Regions from separate parts of the Homo sapiens genome. Here region 2 is linked to region 1. The links are contacts of gene promoters, found by promoter capture Hi-C in blood cells and fetal thymus (Javierre and others, 2016). All regions are on one chromosome and are shown on one strand. The core of a region is centred on a gene start or on the middle of the fragment in contact, and the rest is flanking DNA. Distances in the headings are between cores, read along the strand shown. Region 1 holds the start of EXOC1 (exocyst complex component 1). Region 2 overlaps POLR2B (RNA polymerase II subunit B).

Region 1 (6,120 bases), core at 2,173-4,672:
CAGAAGGCAGATGGAGTGGGAAGGTGGTTTTTCCCTGGAGTCGGGCTGCTCAGCAGCCCAGATCTCCCCTGACCACCTGGGGCTAAAATCTGCATCATTCTGCCGGTGGATGGCCTGCCTGTTGATGGCCTGCCTGCATCTGTTGTGTGCTCTTCCCCTGGCACGCTTCTATGCACGTCCAGCCGCTTGTGTGTTCTTCCGCCAATATGTTCTTCTCAACATCCAGCTGCTTGTGTCTCTGCCTGCTAGGGTCTCAGGGTTTTTATAGGCACAAGGCAGGGGTGTGGCAGGCCAGGGTGGTCTTGGAAAATGCAACATTTGGGCAGGAAGGCAGGAGTGCCTGTCCTCACCTAGGTCCATGGGCACAGGCCCAGTGGTGGAGCCCTAGCCAGGGCCCACGTCCTTCCCTTCCCAGCACTTCCCTGCCCCACTCCTGTGTCAATTCCAGTAATGATATACTTTTCATTATTTCATGTTGCTTCTTAAGTCTACTTCATGCAGTAGGCTGTGATGACATAAAGATATTCATTGAGAGACTACCATGGTATACCACGTGTCCTAGGACTAGACAATTTGTTCCTCAGTTTTCTGGTTTTAAAATGAGGATAATAAAGATTCCTTCCTCACAGGGTAGTTGTGATGATTAAGTTAATTAATACATGTAAAATGCTTAGAATAGTACATAGCACATAATAAGTGCTATGTAATTGTTAGATATTATTCTGAGTTCCAGGAATCAGAGATACATCACTGAAAAAAACAGATAAAAATCTTTGCTTTCATAAAACTTCATTCTAGAGAAACAGCAAATGAACAAACAACATATACAATATGTCAAAATGTAGCAAGAACCATGAAGAACAAAAGTAAAAAAGGAAGATAAAAAATACTGGGAGGAGGGTGGTTGGGGAACTATTTTACATAGGGTTCTCTTGGAAGGCCTCAGTGAGGTAACATTTGAGCAAAGACTTGGAAGCAACATGGTAGTAAGCCATGCAGACTGAGGCATGAGAATTGCTTGAACCCAGGAGGTAGGAGGTTGCAGTGAGCTGAGATCATGTAAGTGTACTCCAGCCTGGGTGACAGAGCGAGACTCTGTCTCAAAAAAAAAAAAATTAGTATTTGCTAGATTGCAATAATTGGTTCTTCAGGAGTTGAGTGGGGAATGCTGCCACCAGGATAAACACTATGGAATTCATTGCACTTCAAACTTTTACTTAGTTACCTTGTGCTTCTTACGGAAGTGGACAAGCTGGCAAAGAAAGGAGTTACTATGCTCGTGGGAGTAATCAACTGTGATTAGCAAAAGGATCTAGGATTGTTGCTCCACAATAGCACTAGGGAGGAATTTGGAATCCAAATAATTCGCTGGGGCTTACTAGGTGTTTCTGTACCCAGGGATAATTTGAACAGGTAATTACAGCAATCATGGCTTAACCAGAGAAAGGAAAATAAAGGCTGAAGGTGGGGGCTATTTCACCAGAGAAACAACTTAGACCAGCTGATGTGCTGGTCAATGGTGAGGGAAAATTAGAATGGGTAGTGGAAGAGGGAGTTAATACAAGTATGGTCCTGACATTGATGCAGCAGTAAAAACTGAAGCTTATTCTATTAACTCTCTTATATTAAGGCTTTGCTGAGATTGTGGCTGGCCATCACCTTGAAGAGACCTCTGTGAAGGACTGAACATAACAGAGCACACAGGCAGATCAGAGTGCTGCAAGATATGGACACCTTCTATGTCCTTCTGTGCAACTTAGGCCATGACTTCAAATCCCTTCAGCCTATTATTCTAACCACTGCTGCAGCAACCTGCTCGGAGCAGGTTTGATGACCTTTGAACAAGTGCGAAATACCAGCACCTCTCCTCTCACTTCCTGCCCCAGCATGTCTCTGATGTGGGAGTCAGCTTGGCATTCACAACTGTGCGATTTGTAAGTGTGAAGTAGTTAATGCCCAAGGGCATTAACCTTCGATCAAAGAGGACAGGAGCCGACATACAAATGCTTCCTCCGTTCTTTCCTTTAATGGACAGTTCTGAGACTCATTTCATAAAGCTTCTTAGAAGGTCCTAAGGGACTAAGAAAACATTCAAATATGGTGATGACCAACTCAGTAACACATTCTTATACTGCATCTCCCTTTTTGTTTTGTCTTCTTCCTCTTCCCTCATTTTGCTCCCTGGGATCAAATTTCCAAATAAACTATTGCATATAAGTGTCACTTTGCAGGGAATCCAAGAGGAGAGAGGATAATTTAATTTTTGGACACACAAGTTTGAGGTGTCTATAAGACATCCAAGTGGAAATGTCAGGCGATGGGCAGTATATACACAAATCTTGAGGTTCAAGAAAGAGATCTAGGCTTCTGAAATGCAATTCATTTCCCAACTTTGAGGAGGGCTATAAACATACAGGTAAATAAAAGAAAGATAATAGGACCAAAAAACACATGCAATTGTCATAGAGTGTCCACAGTAAGCATTCCGGTGCCAAGCAGGAAAGGGTCTTTGTAAAGATATAACCAGATCCTGCTCTTAAAAGGGAAGTCATTTGATGAAAGTGAAAAGTATTCTAACTACTGTTTGCTCATTTAAATTTCTAGCACATTTATCTGATCTGTACCTCTCTTTGGTCACTTATTTTGTGTCCTATTTTATATATATTTGTACCTACACCTTGTCTAGTCCTACCACACTGTGAACTCCTTTAGGTTAAGATTCATGCCTGAATCACCTCTGTACCTGGAATCAAAGTGCCTAGCATTAAAAAAAAAAGGTGCCAGGAATATTGAATAAATAAAACACCTACCTGCAACCAGCAACATTGGCATCATTTATGCATCCCAAACTTAAATATGCATAAGCATCATCTTGCTAAGATGCAGATTCTGATTCAGTAGATCTGAAGTGAGCCAGAGAGGCTGCATTTCCTAAAAAGCCCCCAGATGATACCCAAGCAGCTGATCCACGGACCACACTTTGAGTATCAAGGTCATGAGGACAATGGTTCTTGACCTTAGCTGCATATGAGAATCATCTGGGAAGATATTAAAAGTACTGATGTCTGGGTCCCACCCGCAGGGATTCTGATTTAACTCATTTAAGCTCTCCAAAGTTTAAGTAGCAAAGATCTAGAGTTAATAGAGCTTTACGTATGAAAAAAGAAAACATTTAATCGAATTTCTTCTTAAATGAATTGCTGCAAATATCTGAATAAATAACTCTTAATCCCCAACTCCCAAGTCAGTTTCTGTGCCACAAAGGCCCCGCCCCTGCCCTTCCCTGACACGCCCCTCCAATGAGGCCTTGTTCCGCCTGGCCACGCCCGTCGGTTGGCGCCCCGCCCCTCCGCGTCTATTGGCCGCTCCCTTTTTCTCCCATCGCTGCTTCTTCCTTCTCTACGCGGTCAACTTCCGGCGCGGAGTTTGTCACGTGCCCGGATATAGGAAGTGTTGGGGGAACGGCCGCTTCCCGTTCAACGCTTTATTGAGGGGCGTATCCTAGTGGCCCCCATCCGGTCTCCGTTTTGGAAGACCCGCCTCGGCACAGCCAGGCTCAGTCCGGCCTTGCGGTAAGCCTTCGGCCGCGGCTGCCCGGTAGTCCCGGCGGCGGCGGACAGACGAGCTGACAGGCACCAGGGTCTAAGGCGGCTCCTCAGTCCGGCTGCTGTCTCCACGCCTGGGGTCGGGCACCGCTCCTTCTGACCTTCCTTTCCCCGTTTGTCCCGGTAAGACGAAGTTTGGTCAGAGCATTCTCCAGTCCCTTGTCCTCGGGTCTAGGAGAATGCGGAGCTGGGAGGGCAGTCCTCACGGGCCCCATTACGGTTCCGCCCATCGGAACCAGATTTTGTTTGTGCAAAATGACCCTGATCGTAAGCTCTTTGGCGTGGTCCAGGAGAGGAGAGCGTGACTGTGCCTTCCTCTTTGTCCAAATTCACATCCCGGCCCCCCAACCCCAACTCCCCCCCACCCCCCGCCAAATCTCTTAAGTGTATTTCTCTATTTCCTTGCACAGTTATATCTTCTAGATGGCAATGCTTCATGCATTAATATATCTCAGCAGCATACAGGGCCCAATGCACACGGGCACTCACACTGACAGGCTATTTGTCACACAGTGTGGTGGTCCAACTGAGCTGAAGGAAACAACCAGTACAGAGTAAGCAGTGGATGGCTGCCTTTGGAACGTGGTCAGATATGGGTTCTCAGACCTGGAGAATAATTTTAGAGGACCTCTAGGGATTTATTTACTGACTTTCAGAAAAGTACCGTAAAGACTGAAGAGTTAATCACTCGACTCTTAGGATGTAAATGCCATAGAAACACCCGGCTTCAGGTCTTCATAAACATATCTGTCATGTTGACTACTGTAACCTAGAATAGTGTCTGCCACCTAATAAGCATGAGTATTTGCTGAATGAATGAAGAGTCACATACTGCTTTTCATTATGGCTAACTCCTTTATGAGGTATGCCCAATCCTGTCTTGTTTTGCCTCTTACTGTACACTCAGTTGCTTTTAGCCAGAGAAGGAGTATGTGGTAAACGTTGGTCCCTATTATTCATTTGACCAGTTTTTACTATTCAGTTCTAATTACCTTAATAGATATTTAAGTATCCACTAAACACAAAACTATGATGAACATCCCTCCCTTCTTTAAGAGAATTCTTGAGATAGAGAAGCTTATGATTTAATGAGCCCATTAGACGGCAAATGCAGTAAGTGCTGTAGAAATTTAGAGGAGAGATCACTTTGGATTAAGATCTTCATTGAATCAACTTCATGTAAACCATGAAGTGTAATTAGGGTTTGGATAGGGCGGAGATGATATTCCTTACATGGAAAGTACCAAAGTGAAGATTTGATGTCCAAAATGAACAGAGTGTTTGGAGTGGAATGTTTTTGAGAACATTAGGAAAACGTTGAGTAAAAGCGTGATGTGATACAAACTGTCTTTTAAAATTATCTTGTTGTTCAGGGTTGTGGGACCTTGCAAAGAGAACCAGATTTTGTAGGGTTAAGTAAAGTTGATATGAACCTGGGTCAGTATATTTGCAGTGCGAAAAGAAAGGAATAAATTACATGTAGATGGGGGGAAATCGCAGAATGTGGTAGCAGATTTCATGTTGATAAGGGAATAGGGAAGCAAATATGGTAGATTTTGAACCTGGACATTTGCTTATAGATGTGAAAGTTAGGAAAGGGGAATCTTGGAGGAGCTATAGCTGTCATGTTAGTGAATTTAAGCATTTGTTAAATGCCTAGTTTGTCAAGTTCTAGGAATACAAAGATGATTAAGACATGGTCCTACTTTTAATAGGGGATAAAATACAGCTAGCTAGAAAATACAATTCATAAATGCCGTATTTATGAAGTAGAGGGGAAGTGTTAGAGAGGTAGAAATTACTCTTTGCGTGGGGCGGCTGCAGGGAGGGGGCTACTTTACAGAAAAGATGACATTTTAGCACAATCTTGAGGGATGAATTGTAATTTCCTAGGGAGAAGAGAATTCTAGGAAAAGAAGGTTGCATGAACAAAAGCCCAGAGATAGAAAAGTAAACTGGCCAGTGCCATTGTGGCTTGGGCTTAGGAAGAAATATAACATAGTGTCTGGGCCCTACAACATATTAAGGGATTAGCAGCATGGACACTCTATAATAAGCCAAAAGGAGGAGAGGTTGGGTGAAGGTGTGGAGAGACGGAGAAGCAAGCAATTGGGGATAATTGTATTTCATGGCTTTTATATCCTCTGCAAGGTAGATTGTTAAGTCATTTGCAGAGCGGGAGGAGGCTAACTGCTAGACCTGGAAACTGAAGGAGAGTAATAAGGATTTACAACAATAGTCATGGGGAACGGAAAAAGGAATCATCAAATGAGGGATTAATTGCCGAGCAGCATTGAAAGTCTAACTTTCACTGGATGTAGATATTTGTAATGCACGCAATGAGCGTGGATATGTGGCTTTTGAAAGTGGCATTTGGTAGTCCAAGAGAAGTGAAGAAAATAATACAGTTTATGGAGATTGATAAAAACAAGATCAGCTGGTCTACAAACAGGGTGAAATAATTGTAGGGGATAGTTTAGGTATAGGGAAATGAGCACTGTCTCCAGGCTAGGTT
Region 2 (6,120 bases), core at 2,101-4,600, 1.1 Mb after region 1:
GCCTCCCAGAGTGCTGAGATTATAGGCATGAGCCACTGCACCTGGCTTGTTGGGTCATTTTTTCTTCATGGTCTTTGTATAACAAGCCAGATAACAATATAACATAGCAAATTGAACGTGCCAGTAACAGAAGTACTAAAAGAGGAGTAGATCTCTAACACCTAGTTATCAGAGCTTAGTAGAAAAGATGGAAGAGACTTAAATTTACTATGAAGAACTCTCTTAGAAGAGAAAAGGTGCTTAGTCATTTCAGCAAGGAAATATTTGGTGTGGCCGGTGCGATGGCTCATGCCTATAATTTTAGCACTTTGGGAGGCCGAGGCGGGCAGATCACCTGAGCTCAAGAGTTTGAGACCAGCCTGGCCAATATGGTGAAACCCCGTCTCTACTAGTAAAGTACAAAAATTAGCCGGGTGTGGTGCCAGGCACCTGTAGTCCCAGCTACTAGGGAGGCTGAGACAGGAGAATTGCTTGAACGTGGGAGACGGAGGTTGCAGCGAGCTGAGATCACGCCACTGCACTCCAGCCTGGGCGAGAGGTCGAGACTCTGTCTCAAAAAAAAAAAAAAAAAAAAAAAAAAAAGAAAAGAAAATACTTGGTGTATTTAGGCTGGGGACCACAATGATCAGTATGTGATTTTGGCTTATCTATTTTTTTTTTTTTTTTTGAGACAGAGTCTCGCCCTGTTGGCCAGGCTGGAATGCAGTGGCGCGATCTCGGCTCACTGCAGGCTCCGCCTTCCGGGTTCACGCCATTCTCCTGCCTCAGCTTTTTGAGTTGCTGGGACTACAGGCGCCTGCCACCACGCCCGGCTATTATTTTTTTGTATTTTTAGTAGAGACAGGGTTTTGCCGTATTAGCCAGGATGGTCTCGATCTCCTGACCTCATGATCTGCCCTCCTTGGCCTCCCAAAGTGCTGGGATTACAGGGCTTCTCTATTTTTAATAGGCATTAGGAAGATAAGATGGAACCCGATTGTTGAAAGCTTTGAATGTCATTGGATGTTATGAGGAATTACTGAGAGACTGTCAAAGAATATACATAAAGCATTATTTTAGAAAAGTTACTTTGGAAAGTGATGCTTGCTTGGAATAGAAAGAGGCTAGAGGAGGCCAGATGTGGTGGCTCATGCCTGTAATCCCAGCACTTTGGGAGGCCTAGGCAGGCAGATCTCTTGAGGCCAGGAGTTTGAGACCATCCTGGCCAGCTTGGTGAAGCCCCATCTCTACCAAAAAATACAAAAATTAGCCGGGCCTGGTGGTGCGCCTGTAGTCCCAGCTACTTGGGAGGCTGAGGCAGGAGAATCACTTGAACCCAGGAGGTGGAGGCTGCAGTGAGCCGAGATCACGCCACTGCACTCCATCCTGGGTGACAGAGTGAGACCCTGTCTCAAACAAAACAAAACAAAATGAAACAAAACAAAAGAGACTGGAGGAGATAAAAATCTTAGAATAGCCTATGATTAAGATAATAATGACCTAGACTAGATGATGGCACAGATAAGGAGTAGAGGATTGGCTTCCCTTTGGTTCGTTATCACCACCGTTCTCTTTGCCCTTTATCCAGCCCAGCTTGGGAGACTTGAGTGTCAATAATTAATCATTAGTAAAACGTCTGCTTACTCCTGTTTTCTTCTCTGAGACTTGATTTAGAGAAAAGTACACTATCCATTTATCTCTAGAAAGTTGTCCTCATGGATCTTGTTTTATTAGGCAGCAAGTGAATGTTTAATTGAAAAATTTCTTTTTTTTTCTATGAACTAAGCTATATTCCAGCCAGAGTTGGAAATTCTCAGCCCTTTATATAGAATGATTAGGATATTTTGTGTGTTTTTTAAAATAAAAAAATCTTTTTCTTTTGTTAACTCTACTCCTTTGACAGATTAATTTGTATATTTAACTGAAGAGAGGTTTATTTTTTAAAATGTTCTATTGATTAGATTAGAGCATAGTTCTAGTTGTCTGGATTTGTTATCTTTGTTCTCTGGTCACTTTGTATTTTTGATGATGCTTACCAAGGAGAGGGCACAAGAAACTATGTAGATCATTAATGTAAATCCATTTTAACTGTTTCATATAAACTCAGAGCACATGATGTGTACAGTCTTTACTTTTAGTATATTAAGTCTCTTTTTGTCTTCTGCCTTAAGAAAGCAATTAGCAGATCCTTCTGTAGTTGATAAGTGTGTGATGATTGGGTGTGAGATGTGCCTTCCTTAAACCTTGTTACAAACCTTGTTAGCACATTACCTGTCTAATGTGAAAAAAAATTTTTAAGAAAAGAGGAAAAAAGAAAGTGATTTGGTTTAAAACTTAACGTCTATGCAATATGGATATTGACTTTGGGAAGTCCCCATTTCAGTAAAATGGATTAATTTTGCCAGTTTGTAGAGTTGCTTGTACTTAAAATGTTAATGTCAATTAAAATGGAATCACTAAAACTTTTATGGAAAAAATTATTTACCCTTTTCATGTTTTTTTGTTTAATTTCAGCCACGATATTTGCTGAAGTTTGAACAAATTTATCTTTCCAAGCCTACCCATTGGGAAAGAGATGGTGCTCCTTCACCAATGATGCCCAATGAAGCTAGATTAAGGAATCTCACGTAAGAAAGAATTTTTCCTTGTCAGCAGTAGATACTGAAATAGAATTTTGAAAATGTAATTTTAACCACTTGAGGATTTGTTTTAACAGATACCCTATTGCTTAACTGTGATCTACTTTTATTTTCAAAGGTATTCTGCTCCGCTTTATGTTGATATAACAAAAACAGTCATTAAAGAAGGTGAAGAACAACTTCAGACTCAGCATCAGAAAACTTTTATAGGAAAAATTCCAATTATGTTGCGGTCAACTTACTGCCTTTTGAATGGCTTGACAGATCGTGATCTTTGTGAGTTAAATGAATGCCCTTTGGATCCTGGTGGCTATTTCATTATTAATGGATCAGAAAAGGTATAGTAACATTATTTTAAAAAATTACAAAATGGTAGTTAAAATTTAGTTTAAAGTTGAAATGAAAAAAAAAAAAAAAAGAAAGAAAGATTTTCCTGCAGGATAACCTGGCACTGACAGTTGACTTGTTTAGGGTATGACAGCTAAACTTATATAAACCAAAGCTTTATTTAGCTGTATATAACATGCACTGGGAATTTGGTCAGTTTTGGAGTTTATGTATTTCTATGAAGCATTTATGCAAAATGGAGTTTGTAAAGTTGAAGAATTAAATATTTCAGTGAGCCTATATGGTCAGATTAAATTAAGATGCAGATTTTACTCTCTTTTCTCTTCAGTGATGTTTTGGATTTTATGGCTGTAACTTTCTTATTGTCCAAATAGGTTCTGATTGCCCAAGAGAAAATGGCAACAAACACAGTTTATGTGTTTGCCAAAAAGGATTCTAAATATGCCTACACAGGAGAGTGTAGATCATGTCTTGAGAATTCTTCCCGACCCACCAGTACTATATGGGTTAGCATGCTGGCAAGAGGAGGACAGGTATGGACTGGATATGATGCTATTTGGGTTTATTCCTTTGTGCTTTGTTTTAAAATTTACTAGACTGCCTTCTTTGTCCATAGAAGCTTTTCTGGAGCATATTGTTGTTATATATCGTATTGTTTACCTATCGCTGTGTAACAAATTACTCCTCTAGCAACATTTATCATCTCACGGCTTCTGTGAGTCAGGAATCTGGGTGTAGCTTAGCTGGGTCTTTTGGCCAAGCAACTCTCACAAGGCTGCAATCAGATGTTTCCCTGGGCTGCCGTAATCTCAAGAGTCATTCCCATGGTTGTCTGCAGGATTTAGTTCTTCATTGGCTGTTGGACTGAGTCCCAGGTCTTTGCTCGCTGTTGGCTGGAAGCCTTTCTTTGTTCCTTGCCATGTGGGCCTCTGCGTATAGCAGCTGACAGCAGCATAGCAGCTTGCTTCTTCAGAGAGAGTAAGCAAAAAGAGCCATAGAGAGTACGAGCAAGGTGGAAATCAGTCTTTTATAACTTAAAAGTGGTAGCAACATCCTGTCATTTTTGCCATGTTCTTTTTGTTGGTTGCAAGTCAGTATGTCCAGCTCACACTAAAGAGGGTATTACAAGGGCAATAGTAGGAGGCAGGAATCATTGGGTACCAGCTTAGAAGCTGCAGACCACTGGTATAGTTATAAGCATAGGTTGCTTATAATAATGGAACCTGGTAGTAGCTAGCAGTTCTTAAATATTTGCTGTATGCCAATTCTGTTACTCAGATTGCTTGATTTAATTTTTACAGCTATCTTGGAAAACCTCTATTTCAGTTCATGTGTGTGTGTGTGTGTGTGTGTGTGTGTGTGTATGTATATGTGTGTGTGTGTGTGTATATATATATATATATTTTTTTTTTTTTTTTTTTTTGAGACGGAGTCTTGCCCTGTCACCAGGCTGCAGTGCAGTGGCATGATCTCGGCTCAGTGCAAGCTCCGCCTCCTGGGTTCACGCCATTCTCCTGCCTCAGCCTCCCGAGTAGCTGGGACTACAGGCGCCCGCCACCGCGCCCGGCTAATTTTTTTTTTGTATTTTTAGTAGAGATGGGGTTTCACCGTGTTAGCCAGGATGGTCTCGATCTCCTGACCTCGTGATCCGCCCGCCTCGGCCTCCAAAAGTGCTGGGATTACAGGCGTGAGCCACTGTGCCCGGCCTTCAATTTTATTTAATAATTATGCATGTGTGGGATGCAATGTGATATTTTGATACGTGTATACAATGTGTAATGATCAAATTAGGGTACTTAGCATACCTGTCACCTCAAGAATGTTTTTCATAATATTTTATTTGTAAGATAAGCATTCTTCCCATGTGCACAACATTGCTGGGTATTGTTAAGAGATCATGAAAACACACAATCCTTATTGAGAAGGTGGCCAGGTGTGGTGGCTCATGCCTGTAATCCCAGCACTTTGGGAGGCTGAGGTGGGTGGATTGCTTGAGCCCGGGATGTGAGACCAGCCTGGGCAACATGGCAAAACACTTTCTCTAGCAAAACAACAACAACAAAAACCCAAAAATTAGCTGGATGTGGTGGCAGGCACCTGTAGTCCCGGTTACTCGGGAAGCTGAGGTGGGAAGATGGCTTGAGTGCTGAGGTTGCAGTGAGCCCAGATTGGCGCCACTGCACACCAGCGTGGGTGACAGAGCCAGAGCCTGTTCCAAAAAGAAAAAAAGAGAAAAAAAAGAATGGTTTTATTGGGAATACAAGCTTTAGACATTAAATGGTAGTAACACAGTGCAGAGGCCAAATGACACCTATTACATATAACAGTTTTATAGAAATTTGGAGGAGAATGAGGTTACTAGTATGGTGTGGTCCATGCAAAGTTTTTTTTTTTTTTTCTGAGACAGGGTCTCATTCTGTTGCCTAGGCTGGAGCGTAGTGGCGCGATCTGGGCTCACTGCAACCACCACCTCCTGGCCCAAGCGATTCTCGTACTTCAGCCTCCGAAGTAGTTAGATTATAGGCATGCTCCACCACACCTGGCTAATTTTTGTATTTTTTGTAGAGACAGGGTTTCACTATGTTGCCTAGGCTGGTCTCGAACTCCTGAGCTCAAGTGACCTGCCTGCCTTGGCCTTCCAAAGTGCTGGCATGAGCCACCGCCCCTGACCAGTTCATGAAACTTAATAGAGAAGATGGGACTTGACTTACACTTTGAAAGATGGTATGGATTTATATAAGCAGAGAGAAACTGGAAGGACATTCTTATTAGAGGAGAGTGGGGATGAGTATTTGGAGAATCACTGGAAGATAGCTCTAATTGAGCTGGATGAAGTATGTTGAATAGTGAGTGACAAGTAGATGATCAGGGTGGATCTGGATTAGTGGATCTTAACTAAAGGTTCACCTCAATAACCTAAGACTCTTCCAAGTACAAAAGGGGCCCATTTCCAAATCTGCTGACTCAATAGTGAGAATGGGAGTGGAATGGGGCCCAGGTACAAGTATTTGAAAGAGGTCCCCAGGTGATTGTGATGTGCATTCTTTGTCGAGAGGCATCGGCCTGGATGACAGAGGGCAAAGACATAAACAGTATATTAGGGAGACTATCATGGCAACTCTGAACAAAATGAATTAATTAGAGACAGAGAAAG

The links. Contacts are between HindIII fragments. The CHiCAGO score rates a contact against its expected background, and 5 or more counts as called.
Region 2: a contact is called between a fragment that was not itself captured here and the fragment with the promoter of EXOC1 in region 1, in 1 of 17 cell types (total B cells). The highest score is 5.7, in total B cells.

What each region holds. Positions count from the first base shown.
Region 1 is chr4:55,850,226-55,856,345 of GRCh38, forward strand. EXOC1 (exocyst complex component 1) reads left to right here and starts at 3,423. Exons shown (of 19, transcript NM_001024924.2): 1 at 3,423-3,728. RefSeq lists a silencer at 3,215-3,314. The HindIII fragment of the contact is 2,625 bases long and covers 2,056-4,680 here.
Region 2 is chr4:56,991,911-56,998,030 of GRCh38, forward strand. POLR2B (RNA polymerase II subunit B) reads left to right here. Exons shown (of 25, transcript NM_000938.3): 4 at 2,494-2,606; 5 at 2,737-2,956; 6 at 3,341-3,499. It also overlaps the pseudogene LOC124900913. Among named protein-coding and RNA genes, the nearest start is that of POLR2B, 16 kb to the left of the region's middle. The HindIII fragment of the contact is 465 bases long and covers 3,119-3,583 here.